2 separate regions of the Homo sapiens genome follow, and region 2 is linked to region 1. Evidence: promoter capture Hi-C in 16 types of primary human blood cells and fetal thymus (Javierre and others, 2016). All regions are on one chromosome and are shown on one strand. The core of a region is centred on a gene start or on the middle of the fragment in contact, and the rest is flanking DNA. Distances in the headings are between cores, read along the strand shown.

Region 1 (2,700 bases), core at 54-2,553:
TACGTGACCCTGGGCTGGGGTCAAGATAGACAGACCTCCTTGCTGGTGGCAGGAGGCACACTGCACAAACTGGGTGCCTTTCCAAGGCCAGGCCTGGCACAGTAACCAGGGTGGTGCCCTGCCATGGTACCCCACCTCCATAACTGTGCCCTGCTGTACCTGGCGAAGTTTGTTGAGCAGTTCCGGAATGCCCGCCAGCCTCTGCGTGGCCCTCTGGTAGTCCCGATACTGGAGCACCAGCTGCACCATCTCGGGGTCTCCAGTGCTGACTGCCTCCTGCAGGACTGCGGGCACCAGGCTGCTGAGGGGAGCCCTCCAGATGACCCCAGGCCTGGCTGCTCACTGCCCCCCGCCTGCCAGCCTCAGGGGGAGCCCCTTGTCCTCTGCAGTACCTGCCCAGCCCTGGCGGTTCTCTTTGCCCACGTTGGCATTGTGTCGAAGGAGCACTCTCACAGACTCCAGGTTTCCCAGAGACACGGCCAGCTCCAGTGGGGTCCGCCCGCGGGGGTCCTCCTGTTCAATGTCGTGCTGGGGGAGACGGGACACTCACAAAGGGCAGGAGAGAAGAGGGCAAGGCAGGGAGGCTGCCAGGGCGAGCAGGGTTGGGAATCGCTGTGGGAAATAAGGACGGCGGACTGACCAGGGAGATGGCAGAGGGTGGCCTGCGTGTCCTGGCAGGGGAGAGGAGGGGGCAGGAGGGAAGGCAGGGGCAGAGCCGGGGTCTGGCGGCGGGGCCTGGTCAGGCAGAGCTGCAGGTTGTCAGGAGTTTGGCGGAACCTGGGGACCAGGACCAGAGTTCTTGTTCTCAGCTTGGGTCAGCAAGGATGCGGAAGCGAGTTCGGGCGAGCAGGGCAAGGCCCAGCGCAGGGGAGAGGAGGCCAGAGGCTCAGGCGCGAGGGGCCGGTGACCTGGGCTTGGGATCGTGCAGGGGAGGAAGGCCCAGGATGTGGCTGCGGAGCTGAGCGGGCGGGGGGGGGGGGGGGGCTCCAGGACGGAGGCCACAGCCTTGGGTGGGGGACCCGGGGGAAGGGCCGGGTGCCCCAGCGGGGCCTCACCTGGTGGCTGTGCAGTGCGGCCTCCAGTTCGCGATGCCGGTTCGCCCAGACGAGCCGGTGCAGCGGGAAGGTGGGGCCCGGGCCGGCCATGCTGGGCCTCAGCGCCGCATCCCGGCCCCGCCTCGGCTTCGGGCCTGGCACGGCCCCCTAGCCTCCCCTCCGAGCCGCGCCCCAGCTGCGCCCCCCGCGGCCCCCGCAGCAGTAGCGGCGGCGGCGGCGGCGGCGGCAGCGCGGGCGGCAGGGAGGGCGGGGCGGGCGGCGGAGCGGGCGGGGCTGCGCCGGGCCGGGGCGGGGCTTCGCGCGCGCCCCCGTCCCCCCGCAACCATGGCAACCGCGGCCAGGCCAGCGCGCGGCAGAGCAACCGCGAGCGCCCGAGGAGATGCCCGGCCTTGGGTCTGCGCCCCGACCTCGGTCGGGCCCGGGTCCGCTGGGGCGGCCTGGAGGGCGGTGCCCGGTTACAGCTCCGCCCGCGGCCCGCAGGAGGCGCCCCGAGCCCTGCGCAGACCCCCGGAGCCGGGTCCGGAAGAGGAAGGCGGGGCCGGAGGGGGCGGGCACTGGGCCCCTCGGTAGTGCACGCGCGTGCGCGGCGGGCCGCGGTCCTGCTGCAGCCGTGATGCCTGCGTTTCCCCCGCGGATCCCCTTGCTCGCCCCGGTCTTCCTACCCCAGGTCCCGCGGTCACCGACTCTGCTGGGGTGTGCGGGTGAAGTGGGGCGCCCCGGCTCCCCTCACCCGGCCTGGAGACGAGCAACGAGCAGACGCCACTAAGTGCTTGCCGGCTGAGCGGGAAGCACCTTCCCCTGGGACCTGGCCGGTGTCTGCAGGCCCAGCGATGCGGGGAGGCGGCCCCCGGGGCCCTGAAGTCAGGGATAGGAGTTCGGGGAGAGAGGGGCGCAGGCCCAGGCAGCGGCAGAGCCGTCCCGGCGGAGGACCGCCCGCGGCGAACGGCTGCCTTCGCCCGCCGCACGAGTCCCTTTTGCAGAGGCTGCGGTTGGCTGCCAGCGTCAGGAGAGGAAGGCGAGTTTCGAAATCAGGGCCGGCCCCTCCACCCACACCGGAACTAGGGTGCAGGCCTCCGTCAGCTCAGTTCCGGCCCTTGATTACTGGAGGCCCAGCCTGGGGTCTGGGGCCCTGGTTTTGCTAGGTGGCCAAGGCTGACCCTCTATTCTCCCTTTCCCTACGTGGAACATGATTGAGGAGGGCCAGCTAGCTTGAGCATCACTTCCTGCTGTAGGGCGTCCTCAGTTCTGAGACTCTGGGCTGGAAGGCCTGATTGCCATTTTTACCCTGCCTTCTCCCTGTAGTCACATGGCGCCTGTGCCATCTGGGGTCACTTTGCCACCCCACGCTATGGTGTCAATCTGTGAGGTCCTGGGGTTGGTAGCAGCCCGAAGGCTTCTGAATGCCCAGAGCTCACCTGCTCACCACTACTGCAGCCCTCCCTGGCCACCCCTTTTCTCAGAGGCGGTCCCTTCCCTGAGCCCTCTCCAAACTCAACCCCGACAGGACTTTCTTGGTTCCAGCCTCTCCTGATTTCTGCCATCTTGAACACAGCTCCCCACTGGCACTTAATTCCATGACAGTGCCTTCTCAACCCTCTTCCACGGCCTCCTCTCTCTCCCTGACCCCCACATCCCTGGGAGAGAG
Region 2 (2,700 bases), core at 4-2,503, 340 kb before region 1:
CCGTCCGCATCCCTGGGAGCACACAGTAATATTAAAAGTGGTGACTCCAGCCCAGTGGCAGGGCTGCACTTGCCCAGATGAGGATCGAAACTGGCGCTCAGAGAGGCGCGGGACCTGCTCAACGTCACACAGCAGAGCATGGCGGACACCCGCCACCCCACGTTTAAATGCTGTGCGCAAGGCTGGGGTCATCTGGTCCCCAAGCCCAGGGTCTGGTGGAAGGGCGCAGAACCACGGTGGTCAGTGACCACAGGGGCCGAGGTAGGAAAGGGGGAGGGATTTGGGAATCCGGTCAAGACTCAAGGCAGGAAGGGAGAAGAGCTCTGGACGCTGGGACAAGGAGGTCAAAGGCCTGGGGCTGGAGTCCGACGGAGCCAGAGGGGAAGACAAGACTGGGGGCGGCGCGCGCCACCCAGCGGTATCGGGAGGGAGGACCGGAGGGAGGGCTGGGCCGGACGCTCCTCTCGCGCACCGATCGACCTCGGGTTCCTGGAGGGGCGTCCCCGTGGGATCCCGGCTCCGTACATCCTGGAGCCCCTAGGGGAGGGACGGACCAGTGGGGGCCGGCGGGGCCTCATCAGACACCCCAACGCCAGGACCCAACGGGACCGAGGACGGTCGCCGGGCGCTTCACGGTTCGCGTGGTTTCAGGATCTCGGAGAACACAACCGGCAGGTCCTGCAGCTCCGCGCCCATCTCCCTCCCCGCGGCCACACCCCCGGCCACGGCCCGGCCCTGCCGGAAGCACAGTCCTCCTGGCCACGCCCCCCAGTCCTTCGTAGCAAAAGCTCCGGTCCAGGCCCCGCCCCCAGCCCGCCCCAACCTCGATTGCCTACTAGGCCCCGCCGCCCTTTGGCAGTAACGTCCGAGTCCGGCTCCCGCGCAGGCCCCGCCCCGCCCCGCCCCGCCGCCCTCCGTCCCTCCCATCCGGGGGACTCAACGCGTCCCACCGAGGCCCCGCCTTCAAACAGGCCCCGCCCCCTAACGGACCCCGTCCCACCGAGGACCCGCCTTCAAACAGGCCCCGCCCCCGAACAGACCCAGTCCCACCGAGGCCCCGTCTCCGGGAAGGCCCCGCCCACGAACAGACCCACCCCACTGAGGCCCCCCGACGCCGCTGCCGCTCTGCAGCCCCCCAGGCGGGACGCGTCGCGCGGGCTGCCCCTTCTCCCTCTCAGCTTTCGGAGGGACCCGGGCTGAGCGCCCCGCCCCGCCTCGCCCCGCCTCTTCCCTCGCCCGATCCCGCGCCCTCAGTGTCCCGGCCGCGCAGGACTTGACATGCTGCCCGACTGCCTGTCGGCCGAGGGCGAGCTGCGCTGCCGCCGGCTGCTGGCAGGGGCCACGGCCCGGCTCCGCGCGCGGCCCGCGTCGGCCGCGGTGCTCGTGCCGCTCTGCTCAGTGCGTGGGGTCCCGGCGCTGCTGTACACGCTGCGGTCCAGCCGCCTGACCGGGAGGCACAAGGGCGACGTCAGGTACAGCGGCCGGGAACTCCTCGCCCTTTGCCGGAGGCTACAGGAGCCCGGGGCTGGCAGGGACCTCTGGCAGGGCACTTAGCCCCTTCGAGCCTCGGTTTCCGCCTCCGTAAAATGGGTCTGGGGAGAGTCCCTCCGCCCAAGGGCTGCAGCGAGAGGTCAGCGATCCGTGTCCGTCGGCCCCGGTGCACCTGCCGGGGCGCCACGTCCTCGCCGCGTGGGCCCCTCGTACGCGTCCTTGCGCGCACGCCTGGGCCGGGACACCCCTTTGAGCTGTTTCCCGCTTAGAGGGCGGACGCCGCCCCCTGCCGGCGACTACGGAGAGGTTCGGGCCCCGCCCGGCGGGAATTAAGAACATCCTGAGGACAATGTCAGTGTTGCTGGGGCCACCATAGGCCGAATTTGGGTATCTGAGCCCCAGGATCTTCTTGCCCCTGCTGCAGACCCTCTTATCCTGCGCTGTCCCGGGCCTCTCTTCCTTATCCCCATTGCTCAGGGAGGTAAACTGGCCTCCAGAGGTCGCATGGCTTGCCTGGGGCCTCCCAGTAAACTAGGGGCAGAGGCAGGCGACACTTCGGTGGGCCAGTGGCCCCCCCCGCACTGCCGATACCCCGACCTCTCCGTGGCCCCAAGAGTCCAAGGACCAGACTCCTTGTGTCTGTTTAGTTTCCCAGGCGGCAAGTGCGACCCGGCTGACCAAGATGTGGTGCACACGGCCCTGCGGGAAACCCGGGAGGAGCTGGGCCTGGCAGTGCCCGAGGAGCACGTGTGGGGCCTGCTGCGGCCTGTGTATGATCCGGTAAGCCACTTGGCTGAGGCCACCCCACCCCATTCACTCACTCTGTGCCTGCCCTGGAGCTGGGCTACCAGGGACCAGGAGAGTGGTCATGGACCCCCACGGGCACAAAGTGTGGAAGGGTGCCCCTAACCTGCCTGGTCACATGCACCACCCCACACACCCCCTCGGGAAGGGATTGGGGAGGCTCTGGTGTCCTGAGTAGAGGTGGCCCAGGGCGATGGGGTGGGCCAGCTCCACTCAGTTTGGTGGATTAGGGTCAGGGAAGCTTCATGGGGTAGGCAGGGATTGAACCCAGGCTTGAATGCCAAGTGGGAGATTGTCCTAAGCAGAGGGAACAGGTCTAGTGCATTTGAGGGGACCTGAGTCAGTCAGCATGGCTGGAGGACACAGGCAGGTGGACCCGAACATGACTACCAAAGGCCTATGCAT

Evidence for each region. The method cuts DNA at HindIII sites, captures the fragments that hold promoters and counts their contacts. A CHiCAGO score of 5 or more calls a contact.
Region 2: a contact is called between the fragment with the promoter of NUDT8 here and the fragment with the promoter of ANKRD13D in region 1, in 8 of 17 cell types (activated CD4 T cells, total B cells, erythroblasts and 5 more). The highest score is 8.6, in activated CD4 T cells.

What each region holds. Positions count from the first base shown.
Region 1 is chr11:67,287,906-67,290,605 of GRCh38, reverse strand. ANKRD13D (ankyrin repeat domain 13D) reads right to left here and starts at 1,303. Exons shown (of 15, transcript NM_207354.3): 1 at 1,056-1,303; 2 at 393-528; 3 at 160-284. The coding sequence starts at 1,145. RefSeq lists enhancers at 1-28, 29-953, 2,188-2,397 and silencers at 948-1,717, 1,898-1,967. The HindIII fragment of the contact is 22,420 bases long and covers 1-2,700 here.
Region 2 is chr11:67,628,490-67,631,189 of GRCh38, reverse strand. It overlaps NUDT8 (nudix hydrolase 8), which reads left to right and starts at 1,253. Exons shown (of 4, transcript NM_001243750.2): 1 at 1,253-1,472; 2 at 2,139-2,271. The coding sequence starts at 1,279. RefSeq lists silencers at 331-500, 621-1,410, 1,701-1,850, 2,418-2,700. The HindIII fragment of the contact is 2,776 bases long and covers 1-2,538 here.